Linked DNA regions of Homo sapiens: all the other regions are linked to region 1. Evidence: promoter capture Hi-C in 16 types of primary human blood cells and fetal thymus (Javierre and others, 2016). All regions are on one chromosome and are shown on one strand. Each heading gives the region's core, a stretch centred on a gene start or on the middle of the fragment in contact. The rest is flanking DNA. Distances are from core to core; before and after follow the strand shown. Region 1 holds the start of RAMP1 (receptor activity modifying protein 1). Region 2 overlaps UBE2F (ubiquitin conjugating enzyme E2 F (putative)). Region 3 overlaps LOC124908001 (a long non-coding RNA gene). Region 4 holds the start of LOC124908001 (a long non-coding RNA gene).

Region 1 (3,258 bases), core at 492-2,991:
TACAGCTGGGCTCCAATGACATTAATTTACTGATAACCTCATAAAGTTTTGTTTGTTCTTCCAAGAGATAACATTAGCCAGGCCACTCAAAATAACGTTAAAATTACAGGACTTTGGACTTTCGGCAGAACATGAATAGTTTTCTCGGTAAACAAGGAAGGTCTTTATATGTGATCGTGACATAGTGTTTTATTTACACAAGCTTTAGAGGGTTCAGCCTCTGGACACTAGTAAAGAACGTTTATTTATTTGGTTATTTATGTAAAAAATATTCCACAACCCAGCTCTCTGCCTTGCTAACAAAGAAATGTTTGTTTCTTAGTAAATGAAAACAGTGAAGGCCATGTCAAGCCAAATGGAGAGAATAAAATTACTGCGAGATTCTGCTTTCCACGTAACTTCAGCCAAAACTCTAAAGTGGCAAGATCCGCTTTCAGATTATATTATATCGGCCTCTGAGGATTCTATGCAGATCTGCCACCCCTTGGAGAGGTTTACAAATAGGGAACAGAAATCCATGGCTCCCAAGAAGCCCTGGCCCCTCTCCTCGCTGGGCCACGAACCACTCCCCCAGCTACAACAGCGCCGGTGGTCCCTGCTTGCCCAGTGCCAGCGCCAAAGAGGTCTTGTGCGGCAGGTGCCTCTGACCAACATCACTGTTTCCGGGGAAAGGCCACACATACCAGAAACAACTGCTCCGGCCTTCCCAGGGACACTGGGTTCTCCCACGCCAGTAACCTATTCACAGTTTCCGTTAAAAGGTAGCTAAATACACGGAATAATGCAATAGCCAAAGCGGTTTAGAAGGGGCTTGAGTTAGCATTTTAGGAACACATTACAGACAAGGGAAGTGAACAGCACCGTTTCTTGCCGAGTGTGTGGCCAGTTCCTGTGGCCATGAGGCTGCCGCTAATCTCCACTTCTCCCTCCAAGTGGAAAGCCAAACGTGTTCCACCACTTCACCAAGGGACCCGTCCTTCTTTAAATTTCTATTAGCCAAAAGTGCCAAGTTAACAAGCAAACCAAAAGAAAAAAGAAAAAAAGCGATGGAAGTGTCCCGAAAAGGGCTGGCCTCATTTCTGCAAAAGACGTGATTTGCAAACAAGCAACTGCTGCAGGCGACAGATTGTCAGTGTTGACTAATTTCCATACAAACCGGCTGTGGTTCTGATTCCCGAACACTGCGTCTTCTGCAAGGTGCCCGTCTGCAGGTTTTGCAACGCGGGACGGCCTAGGGAAGGGAGCCTGCGCTGGCAGTCACCGCGGCGCACAGCCTGAGAAACGAGGTGCGGGGCTGGGGAACCCCGCGTCCTGTTTTTCCTTCTGAAAACTAGTTCTCCAGTGTGCAGGGCTGACTCACCCCACGCTTTCCAGAATGCCCGCTCTCCGACGTCCCCAAAGCCGTCCCTTCCCCGGCGAGAAGCGCAACACCGGTCCGCGCCCTCCGCCTCCCCTGTGCCCTGGGGCCTCCCGCCTGGAACCGGGGCGGCCCGCGTTCAAGGGCAGCGGATCTGTGCGCCCGCGGCGCCCGCCCCCACCCGCTCCCACCCGCTCCCACCCGCTCCCCTCCTCTCCCCTAGAGGACACCGGCTGGCCAGGGGAAGGGAGCTCGGCCGGGACCCCTGGACCTACTCACCCAGGAGCAGCCAGAGGCCGCGCCGCGGGAGGCGGCACAGGGCCCGGGCCATGGTGCACAGCGGTGCCGAGTCGAGTCCGCTCGCCACGCGCCCCGCTGAGGACTGAGCCCGCCGCGGCGCGGGCCCGGAGGAGACGCGCCGGGGGCGGGAGCGGGCGCGGGAGCGGTGGGAGGCGGCGGCCGCGCGGCCCGGCCCACTGCGGCTCCCCGCGTGGGTGCCAGGGCCGGGGGCGCCCAGGGCCGGTAAAACTTTGCAGGGGGGCCGCGCGGGCGTCTCCAGGCCCCTCCCGGGGGGCGGCACACTTGGGGTCCCAGGAAGGCCTCCTGAAATGTTCTCCGAGCAAATAAACACTTTTTAAACTAGGGAGGGTCTCCTAGACGACTCAGCGTGAGGGGCACCTTGGTCTCCACCTGGGGATCTTCCCCTCCTCCTCCTCCGAGGTTCTGGGCGTTCCTGCCTGGTGTTTGCCTTGCAAAAGGCTAAGATCTCCCAGCCTTATCTACCTCTCCGCCCAGGTGCAGGCGCTGGGGAGCGTGGGGGGCAAAACTCGCCACCGCGCCTGGCGAGACCCGTAGTAACCCAAAATGGCGCACACTTACCAGGCCCTGGAATGCTGCTCCAGATCTGCAGGATGAGTGGGTGGGCAGAGGCGGGGACAGCACGGCAGGTGAACAGAAGCCGTGGGGCTGGAGGAACAGGGCTCTTTGGGGGGATTGAGATGGCCTGGGAGTCTTGCTGTTGATGGGTAGGTAGCGAGAGCCTGGCAGGAGGTTGTGAGGGCCTGGCCACAGAGTCTTGAGATGAGGTTTGCTTTGGTGGCACTCTGGCAGCTGCATGGAAAACTGATGGGGGATCTTGGGTACATTCGTTTATGTAAAGTGGTGAGAGGAGGGCGCTCTGGAGATGGGCCGGGGAAGCCTGCGGAGGAGCAGGTTTTGGGAGGCACAGGCCTGGCCTCTCGGCATTACTGGTGGCTGGATTTCACTTGCAGTGGTTCCTTCTTGTATTATCCTGTTCCGAGAACTCTTAGCAACAGTAAATTTATACTTGTGCTAAGGAATGCACCACTGCCCTTGGAGGGGGAAGAATCACCACCCTGGTGCTGCGGCCACAGCTGTCTCTTTTGTGGTGGAAGCTGCAAGCGCACAGCATTGCTGAGTGACCATCGTTTTCTCCTAGGAAAGGGAACAGTCTGTGGCTGAGAGGCTGCTGCCACCTGCAGTAAGCTCAGAGAAGGGGAGACAGCTGACAGCGAGGTCATCCACTGGTTCTTCTAACACAGGCTGGGAGGGCACTCAGGGCCAGCATGCCTACCACCTGTGCAGGGGCCCCAAGTGTTCTGAGAGTGAGGGGTGAGATGGTGGGGGAGGGCACACATTCTCTTGACTTGATTAGCCCTTGTTCTTGAACCCTAGGAGATACACCCCATTGGGTGGCCTGGCATCCCTACTTTCTTCATTTAACAGACATTTGTGTCCCTATGTGCAAGACACTGTTAGATCGACAAGCCCTGCCCTTCAATTGGTGAATCTAGGGGGTGACCTCTAAGACTCTCAATAACATGAGCGCCACAATACAGGAGCCACCCGGAACAAGGGACACTCGCCTCAGCTGCAGTGCA
Region 2 (3,258 bases), core at 415-2,914, 120 kb before region 1:
GCTGGGAACTGAGGAGGCATTCCAAAGGCGCTGTGGACTGAATTTATGCCCTCCACCCCCAAATTCATATGTTGAAGCTCTAACCCCCAATGTGATGGTATTTGGAGGTAATTAGGTTTAGATCAGATCATGGAGGTGGAGGCCTCATGATGGGATTCATGCTGTTATTTAAAAAAAACAAAAACAAAAAACAAAGAGGGACCAGAGCTCCCCTTCTCTCCTCCACGTGAAGACACAGCCAGGAAGAGGCCATCTGCAAGCCAGGAAGAGAGCTCTCATCAGGAACTTGAAGGTGGCCTTCCAGCCTCCAGAAGGGAAACACATGCCTATTGTTTAGGCCAAACCATCTATGGTCCTTTGTTACAGCAGCCCAAGCTGACAAAGACAAAAGGCTGGTCACACAGGCAGAGGACTCTTGGCAAAAGCCAGCTCCAAGCCCCATCAGACAACACTAGGCAGAGCTGCTGAGCCCTTCAACCTAGGTAGAGACAGCTGCCACTTTCCAGGTGACCTGATTACTTCCTTAAACCTGAAGCACTGCCTCACAGATTTCTAGAACTAGAACTTTATTTCTTAGCTTCCCACTGCCTTCATGCATTAAAATCCTCAAATCCACCTTTTCTGCATGCCTCACAGCTGGGAGACACTCGACTCACACACAGGGCCTCAGCCCCTCCAGAGAGAGCACCACCAGGGCTGAGGCCTCACACTACAGAGTGCAGGCCCACAGTGCTCATGGTCCCCTCCAGGCTCTGGAGGAGCAAGGCTGTAGCTCTGAAAAGCAGTCACAGCCCCTGTAGCAGAGCCTGGTATCACTAAGAATGGAGCCCACAGGTCTCCTACCACTTACTTTGAACACAAATGCAGATGATGTCAACTTGAGCCCTCATCTATGCTTACACAGGGTCCTCCCTGCCCAGTGGGCTATGTGGTACACCTGAGGGGCTGCCAAGTTTCCCGGGGCAGCTCCACTGGCATTTAACCCTCCAACAAAGCATCTAAAGGTCAGCCTGTGGCCAACTGCCTTACATCCTCCCCTTGGGCCACTGCTCTAGTTTTTAAAATATGTATTGTAGCACAGAACCTCCCAGCGGCACACACTGCTAAATGCTGTGACTACCCTGACAATGTGGCATGCCACACCCTGAGCCCGCCCTGCTAGACTTCCGCGCCAGGACACGCTGGAGACAGTGGTTCCAGAAAATAGTAAATGCTTCTCTTTCTCCCCCAACACTGAAATGGGGACATGTTGCAGACCTCATATAGGAAGGTGAGGGGTCCCACCTGTGACTGGACTGCTCAGGCAGACACAGGCACCCTCACAGAGAGAGGCCCCTGCATCCTAGACACTGGGAAGCTCAGGCAGATGGGCAGCCAGACCCTCCCACTGCCCCAGCTCCCATCAGCCAAAACAAGAGAAGGTTAGAAACCACCTGGGACTCAGGGGCTGATTGGGACAAGGGGTACGCACAGAATCAACCCCCTTTAGCTCCCCTAACTCCAGACTTGACCCTGAAATGGCTCAATTCCAAATCCCCACATTTAACAAAGACTGACACAGGCAAAGGGTCCTGTCAGACCTCCTGGAGACCCTTGAGGTCTTTGGGGGTCACTAACTGTATGCTGGCACTACAATGCATGTTGGGTGAACAAGTGAAAGAACAGGGAGACAGACAGGCATTGAGCTATTAGATGGAAACAGTGCCAAACTTCAGACAGGTAAGAAAGCAATTAATTCTGCCCTGAGGGGTGTTTGGGGGGTAGGGAGCACCATGGACTCAGACCCTGATGGACTCAGTCACACAGAGGTTCACAGGGAATGCCAACAACAACACTGGCAATGGCCAGCCCTCCAGTCAGGCCTGGACCCAAGTCAGGGCCAGCTCAAATGCAGATCTGACTCTCTCTCCTCAGTGACCCCAGCTTCTGGAGTCAGGAGAGACAGCAGCCCAAAACACTCATCATTCTACACCCTCCAGGCAATGCAGCTACAAGCATCACTCCAGCTCCAGCCCAGAGGGTGCCCTCAGAACTGGACTGAGGATGCTGAGGAAATGTGGGTGTGGCTGAGCGGGGAGCCCTTGCGGCCATCTGGAGGCCTCCCCATGGCCGGCCACTCCAAAGCAGGCCACATGTTTCCAGAGACCTGGAATCGAGCCAGGAGAGCTGACTCTGGCCTCCCATCACTGTTCAGAACTGGGCTCACTCTTCCAAGAAAAAGAAGGGGCCTCTGTTGTGCAGATACCACTGGCCCTTCCTCGCACCCCTCCCCAGGGACAAGCTCCTGCCTCCTATAAGCTCAGCCCTACTGCCATCTGCACCACATCAGAGCCCACATCACAGGTGAGCAAGGCAATGAGCCAGGCGCTGTGATGCAGCAGCACCCAGATCCCCTCAGTGAGGGCTGTGGGCAGGCAGCCTTCAGCAATCAGCCCTTTCAGGGATTTGGTGGCTGCACAGACCTGCACTCCACACCACACCTGTCCCAGGCAACCCTCATCTAACGAATGACAGTTGCAGAGCAGGAAAACCTGACTATCTCACCAGACTGGGGACAGCTCTGAAGGGCTGTGCTTGTGCTTGCGCTTGCTCTTGCTCCAAAGCAGAGGCTGTCGTGGGGCCTTCCTTGCTGCTTGAGTCTCCCTCTGCCTGCTGTTGCTTCCCTCGCCTACCCCACAGGTATTGTCCCAAAGGTACCCCTTAGTAAGGATCCTGCATGACAAACTCCCTACCTCCTCTTCAGGAAACCCAGCCTATGGCATGAAGTCCCAGACATATTGATACAAATTTCTACCACCTATGGATGCTTGTGAATAACACCCTTACACAAGCCACAGTACCCGATGACAGTTCTGACTATAGTAATCTTTCTGAACTCCAACACTCTACTTTTCTCAAAGTCCCAAAAGGGAGTTTGGATTTCACCTGGAAAGGATTCTCACTTTATCACCCCTCAAAGTGCCTTGCCATGCCCTCCAACAGCCACAGCAGCCTCCACAGCACCACTTCCGCCATAACTCCCCAGAGGATAGAAGGCCAGACTGCCACCAGGGTCAACAAGCCACCCACAAAGCAAGCTAAACAAAGGAGCACTCTAGGGGCGGACCCCACAAGCATGAACCATCAGGCACTCTTGTTGCACTTTGTGTGTACAGCCACCTCTCTCAGATCAGGCCCACCCTTCTCTTTACCCTCACCTCACAAACTCCACCACAAGCCCAAACTACTCACCACTCAGCCTGGCCTGCAGCCCCTGAG
Region 3 (3,258 bases), core at 505-3,004, 100 kb before region 1:
CAGTGAACCAAGATTGCTCCATTGCAATCCAGCCTGGGTGACAGAGCAAGACTCTGTCACAAAAAAAAAAAAAAAAAAACTCAAAGAAATATATTTTGGGGTGAAATATTTCTCTTTCTTTCAGGGCCCACCGTCATGTGATGCTATACTAGAGTCAGTTGGAATTTGGCATCTTATTAGTACAAACAGCCTGTTTTGTCAGTCTTATGATCTCTGTTTTAATGTTAATGCTGGTGAGCTGTGCTTGAATGCCAAAGTGAGGAGGGTATAATGCAGCATGTCTGACCCCTCCTTCCCATCATGGCCTGAACTAATTTTTTAGGTTTCTTCAGAATCCCCTTGTTCAAGAGGAGGGGTCCATTCTGTCGATTAGGGGGCTTAGAATTTTATTTTTGGTTTACATGTCCAACATGGCTGTGAGGAATAGAGAAGTTCTTCAAAGTTTCTTAAAACCATAAAGAGCTTGTCATTTCTTTGCTTTATGCATATCTATATATGTTCCAGTGCAGCTGCTCTGACTTGACCTGGCATGCCTGGACAGGGTTAAGGCAGCCCGGGACCATAGTGCCTGCCATAGCTTATTTGGAAACCCTCCTGACCCTCTCATGACTAGCTTCCTCTTTCCTTTGTCCTCTTTCCTCTTTACCTATTTAGAAAAGTTTCAAGCTGTTAGCCAATCAGGTCAAGCTTAGAATGTGAGGTCCCATTCTGGCCAATGGAAATGGGACACAGCCATAGGACGATTGCATCAGGTTACAAAGATTATAAATGTCCCCATCTCCTTTGTTCAGGTGTGCTCTCATGGCAAGACTGCTAGCGAGCGGCACCCTTTCTGCAGAAACTAAACTAGCCTTGCTGAGAGATCCTTTGTCTCAGTGTTGATTTTGCCACACCGAACTCCCATTTCCAACAATGGCAGAGCTAGGATTTAAAGCCAGGCAGTCTGACTCTGAGATTTGCCCTCAGCCAGCACACCTTGAGGCAGCTGATACAAAGAACTTGAGGTAAGCTCTGGGAAGCTGGAGATGGTGCCATGAGTGTATTGCCTGCAGGCCTGTCACCTGAGTCCTGGCCTCTGTGGGCTGGCCTTGCCCTACCAGGTGCCTCCAGGGAGCTAGGGCCTGGGCTCAGACATCTCCACAATCCAGGACATAAAGGGGGCTGGTGCCCCTAACTGTAACTTTCATGTTCTCTGGGAGGGACTGGCTCTGCTTCAGTCACAGAACCACTGTGTGTGTGTGTGGGAGTGGGGTGGAAGTTCAACTGTGAGCCTCACAGAGGAGTGTTGTTGCCCAAGGAAGGGCAGGGGGAGACAATGTCCTCGCATCCCTTCCTCCCTCACCCCTGTAAGTTCAACCCCAGAGGCTTCCAGCTAGGATGTGGAAGGGGAGATGGCCTGGGCTATCTATATTTTCAGCCTGGTCCAGGGCTGGCAGCACTCTGGCCTGGGCTGGTGCAGGGACCTGGGAACCTGTGGGGTGAGGGAAGGGTCTCCCAGGCAGGAAAAGTGGCCTCTGCCAGCATCTTATTCTGCTTAGGCTGCCATAAAATACCACAGACTGGGTGGCTTACACAACAGATGTTTATTTTCTCACAGTCTGGAGGCTGGGTAGTTCAAGATCAAGGTCTGGCAAGGTAGGGTTCGTTCTGAGGCCTCCTCTTGCTTGTAAGCAGCCGCCATCTGGCTGTGCTCACACGGCCTCTGTGTGCTGGGGCAGAGAGAGAGAGAGTGGGCACGCAAGCATGAGAGCTCTCTGTTGTCTCCTTATAAGGATTCGAATCCTGCCAGGTCAGGGCCCCAGGTTAGGGCCTCATTTAACCTTAATTGCTTTCATAGAGGCCCCATCTCCAAATACAGCACACTGTGGGTTAGGGCATCAACATATGAATTTTGGAGAAACAAACATTGTGTCCCTTGCTTCCAGGAAAGCCCTGGAGGGGCATCCACTGCATTTAGCCGTCCACTCCACTCTTCCCTCCTGCCCTCACTGTGGGTGGGGCACACTCCATTCATTCCCCACTGGGGTAGGCATTCCTGGCTCCGGGCTTCAGTGGAAGATTGGCCTCCAGAGGTACGATCTGCAGTCTGGGTGAGCTGGCATCACCAAGCCCAGTGGGTCCAGTGCTCATGCCCCTTCCTCCAGACACAGTGTCCTTACCCCAGGCAAGACCTTAGCCATGTTCCAGGTGCAAGCCCTTGTTGTGTGAATTGGGAAACAGCCCAGGGGATGCTGAACTCCCGTGGGAGTAGACATGGGAGAAAGGGTGCAACACAGCCCTTGGCCAGCCCTTGCTCCACTTGTTTTGTGTTGTTCTAGATTACTCCCAGGTGTGCATCTGCCCTCCGGCTTCATCTGGTGTTCCTGGGGAGCAAGGCCCAGGACACTCAAGTGCAGGCCTGGACACATACAGGCCCCATGTCCCTGTGGAGCCTTCTCAAATCTACTTCAATCCAAATCAGGCACTATATAATAAGTACCTGTCAAGGGCTGAGTGTCGTTGGGGACAGACCCTGCCCTCCAAAAGCCTCAGCTAATGGGAGAAACTAGCATTTAGTAAACCACCACAGAATAGGGGCAGGGATACAACTGTGGCCGCTAAGGTTTGTTCCAGACAGGGGGGAACAAAGCCTCCACTGACCCACATGAGTTTAGGGATCACTGGGGAAAGGAGGGAGAGAGAACTGTGCTGACGGTAAGCCTTGCCTTAGAATTCAACTGAGGAAGCTGAAAATAAATGCCAAAAATCCCATGTCCCACTAGCTCATTCTCTTGCTAAAAGGGGAGACAGGTAAATGGTGTTTCTGTTAGGAAAAGCTTTATTGGGCCTTTTGGGGCCTGGGGTCTAACCTGGAGAGGAGGACAAAGATGAGACTACAAAGCAGCCGGAGGTGGTGTGGAGTGCTGTGAGGCTGTCTGAGGGGCAGAAGCTGAGAGGTGACACCCAAGTCCCAGTTCTGGGGTCCTCCGTGGCATGAGGGAGGGATGAACTTCCCATAGCTGGGGCAGATGGGGGCTCAGATTATCATCGTTATTATTATTTAGTAAGGGGTCATCCAGGAAGCAGACAATTGAAAATTCTAAGTAGTATAATTTTAATTACATAACTGGTATAATTAAGTTTTGCTTTTGCAACTGGCCTCCAGGGAATACAGCTTGTTTCTTTTTATTTCTTAAAAAAAAATAATACAGTGGGCTGTGATGGCTTTGTTGGAGAGGGACTGAGTCAGAGTGGTGTTTTAAATCTGATGATAGGATT
Region 4 (3,258 bases), core at 406-2,905, 86 kb before region 1:
TATGATAGTCTGGGTGACAGAGCGAGACCCTGTCAAAAGAGAGAGAGAGAGAGTGGAAGGAAGGAAGGAAGGGAGGGAGGGAGGGAGGGAGGGAGGGTACTCTGAAGATGCTCCTCTGCTAGTGAAGATGGAGGAAGTGGCCACAAGCCAAGGAACTCGGGCAGCCTCTGGAGGCTGAAAAACACAGGAAACAGATTCCCCTGAAGCCTCCAGAAGGAATGCAGCCCTGGTGACACCTCGATTTTAGATGTTTCACCTCCAGAACTGTAAGATAACAAATGTGTGTTGTTTTCACCAGGTTTGTGGTAATTTGTCACAGCAGCAATTGGAAGCTAATATAGCCATGTGTCCATATCTGCATCTTGAACCCTTTCTTTCTTTCTTTTTCTTTCCTTCTTTCTCTCTTTCTCTTTCTCCTTCCTTCCTTCTTCCTTCCTTCCCTCCTTCCTTTCTCTCACTTTCTTTTTCCTTCCTCCTCCCTCCCTCTCTCCTTCCTTCCTTTCTTCTTTCTTTCTTTCTTTTTTTTCTTCTTTCATCTCTCTGTCTCTCTTTCCTTCCTTCCCTTCCCTTCCCTCCCTCCCTCCCTCCCTTCCTTCTTTCCTTCCTTCCTTCCTTCCTTCCTTCCTTCCTTTCTTCCTTCCTTCCTTCCTTTTCTTTCTTGACAGAGTCTGGCTCTGTCACCCAGGCTGGAGTACAGTGACACATTCTTGGCTCACTGCAACCTCCACCTCCTGGGCTCAAGTGATCCTCCCACTTCAGCTTCCTGAGTAGCTGGACCACAGGCATGTGCCACCACCCCTGGCTTGTTTTTGTATTTTTTGTAGACATGAGTTTTCACCATGTTGCTCAGGCTGGTCTCAAACTCGTCAGCTCAAGCAACCCACTGCCTTGGCCTCCCAAAGTGCTGGAATTACATGCACAAGCCACTATGCCTGGCCTATTAAGGGTTAATTGAACCATTTCTTACCCAAGTGGGATCATATTCTATGTGAGTTTTGTAGCTTGCTCTTCTTATTTTTCCAGCTAACGGCAGGTCTTGAAGGCCTTTTCTGTAAGCGCACGTAGAGCCACGTCACTCCTGTTAAAGGCTGGTGGAGGTGGTGTTGTTCATTACCTTCCTTCTGCTCCCCATGCGTCCAGCCATCTGCAGTCAGGTAGGGCCCTGTGGCTCGCTACGGCTGTTGGGTTGTGGGCAGAAATGATATGACTGGCTCTGATTTACGTGAAAGAGGGAATTAGAAGTCCAGTTTTATCATACAGGCCTAAGAGTCGCACTCAGGCACCCTGTTCCCAGGGGGCATCTGATGGGGAGACACGCAGCAGAGAGAGTTGCAGACAATGCTGGTTGCTATGCCAACATCTACCCTTCCTTTCTTCTCTGTAACAAAGCCTGGCTTGAAGCTGGGTACATCACTTGGTCTCCCTCGATGCTAAGTGTGGCCTTGTGTCTCAGGTCGGGGTGGGAAGGCTGCTCAAATGGGGATGACTCACGCAGGGGGCGCTGCTTTGCCTCCTGCACTCCCTGGGTTCTCCAAAGTGATTTTAAGAAGCAGGCACTTGACAGCCCAGAAGCTTCTCTTCATCCACCGCTTGGCTTAATTGAGGTGGTGGTGGGAGGCCACAAAGGCTGCCCAGCCCCTCGGAACCACTGTCATGTCTTTGGTTCAACCTTCCTTCATCCACGTTGCTCTAGCCAAGAGTCTTTGGTAGCAACAAACAGAGACCCATGCAAGCTTTCTTCCACTAAAACCGGGCAGTCCAGGCAGCAAACTTCAGATTCCAGAAGGCTTCAGGAATGGAAACTTCTCTCTTCTTTGGAGGCCTGCGTCGCTCCACAGCCCTGCCTCTGTCTATTGCTGTCTTACTCTCCATTGTCTCTCAAGCTGCCTCAGGATCCTTAGGTTGTTGCTTTTGCAGTTGGAAACCTCTGTGGCTGGTGGTGCCTTTGCCTGAGTTTTTGCTCAGGCCCACTTGGCTCATTCTGCCCACTTGGCCTGGCAGGCTGCACTCAGCTCGTGCTACTGGCCGGGATCTTACACCTGACAAGGGTGAGCCAGTAGCAAAGTGGAGTGAGTGTGGGGTCCAGCCACTGTGCACAGCCAGGTGAACTGGCTGCTGCTATGGGACAGGCAGCTCCAGGCACTGGCACAGGCACCAACTCTGTGCAAGGCTGCATCTGGATAAGATGTACTGCAGGCGGCTTCCTCTGTGGTTACCTATGTCTGGACGAGGGGAGCATGGTGGTGCCTGGAAGCTTGGCAATACCAGGAACCACAGAGCTCCAAAGAAGGTGTCACAGCCCTGGCTCAGGGACCCCCTATGTCTGGGCTTCCTGAAGGGCCACAGGTCTTCTCTCCTTCTTGTTGCCCACAACACGGTGAGTGGGGGGTTGGGGGGCATGTTTCAGCCCTGTTTGTGTTACAGCTCTTTCAGTCACACCATGTGGTGAGTTCTTGTCCCATGTCCAGGAAGAATGAGGTACGTTGGCAACTGGAGAGTGAGAAAGATGGAGAGGAATTTTAATGAGTGACAGAACAGCTCTCAGGAGACCCAGAGTGGGTAGTTTGTTTCCACAGGGAGGTAGTTCTGATGAATGCAGCCCTCAGCAGAGAGGAGATCCGGAGTGGGTAGCTCCTTTCTGAAGGCAGGGCATCCTGATGAGTGTCCAGCTCTCAATGGAGATGAGACCCAGGGTGGGTAGCTCCTGTCCACAGGCAGGTTGTCCCGACAAGTTGAGGAGACCCAAAGTAGGTCGTCCCTTCCTTCCTGCAGCTGGTAGTCCTGATGTCTGTGGGAGTCTGGGGTTTTTATGGGCTTAGAAGGGAGGAAGTGTGTGCTGACCGTGGGCAGCCATAGGTGGGCCTGGAAAAAGTACCATAAGTTCTCACTCCAGGCTGTGGACTCCATCTGTAACTGACAGCCCAGCCCCTAGGCTTCAGGCTGTCCCTGGCTTGAATGTGGGGCTTCACTGGGGACCCTCCTCTTCCCACTCAGGAGCCTGTCTGCCTCCTGCTGCCATCAATGTGCCATCCACGGCACCCAAGCTGTTCATGTTGAGGGGCACCTGCAGGCCCTCACTGAGCTGCCCTCAGCACCCCTTTGGCTTCCCTCCCATGCTGGTTGACACCCAAAGTCCAGAGGGGGCAAGGTTCCAGGGGGCTGGCATGTCAGCAGCATCCCAAAATCAGGCACTCAGCCAGGTCATGACAGTGCCCAGGATGGGCCACAGCTTTGCTCTACCATAGAGTGGGCACTGGG

The links. Contacts are between HindIII fragments. The CHiCAGO score rates a contact against its expected background, and 5 or more counts as called.
Region 2: a contact is called between a fragment that was not itself captured here and the fragment with the promoter of RAMP1 in region 1, in 4 of 17 cell types (megakaryocytes, M1 macrophages, M0 macrophages and 1 more). The highest score is 12.9, in megakaryocytes.
Region 3: a contact is called between a fragment that was not itself captured here and the fragment with the promoter of RAMP1 in region 1, in 1 of 17 cell types (megakaryocytes). The highest score is 5.7, in megakaryocytes.
Region 4: a contact is called between a fragment that was not itself captured here and the fragment with the promoter of RAMP1 in region 1, in 1 of 17 cell types (megakaryocytes). The highest score is 6.8, in megakaryocytes.

What each region holds. Positions count from the first base shown.
Region 1 is chr2:237,858,106-237,861,363 of GRCh38, reverse strand. It overlaps RAMP1 (receptor activity modifying protein 1), which reads right to left and starts at 1,741. Exons shown (of 3, transcript NM_005855.4): 1 at 1,637-1,741. The coding sequence starts at 1,688. RefSeq lists enhancers at 2,354-3,140, 3,141-3,258. The HindIII fragment of the contact is 3,458 bases long and covers 205-3,258 here.
Region 2 is chr2:237,977,395-237,980,652 of GRCh38, reverse strand. All of the region lies in intron 2 of UBE2F (ubiquitin conjugating enzyme E2 F (putative)), which reads right to left. All of the region lies in intron 2 of UBE2F-SCLY (UBE2F-SCLY readthrough (NMD candidate)), which reads right to left. Among named protein-coding and RNA genes, the nearest start is that of UBE2F, 12 kb to the right of the region's middle. The HindIII fragment of the contact is 4,484 bases long and covers 1-3,258 here.
Region 3 is chr2:237,960,218-237,963,475 of GRCh38, reverse strand. LOC124908001 (a long non-coding RNA gene) reads right to left here. Exons shown (of 2, transcript XR_007088146.1): 2 at 1,565-1,709. Among named protein-coding and RNA genes, the nearest start is that of UBE2F-SCLY, 5.1 kb to the left of the region's middle. The HindIII fragment of the contact is 2,129 bases long and covers 690-2,818 here.
Region 4 is chr2:237,943,797-237,947,054 of GRCh38, reverse strand. It overlaps LOC124908001 (a long non-coding RNA gene), which reads right to left and starts at 1,593. Exons shown (of 2, transcript XR_007088146.1): 1 at 968-1,593. The HindIII fragment of the contact is 161 bases long and covers 1,575-1,735 here.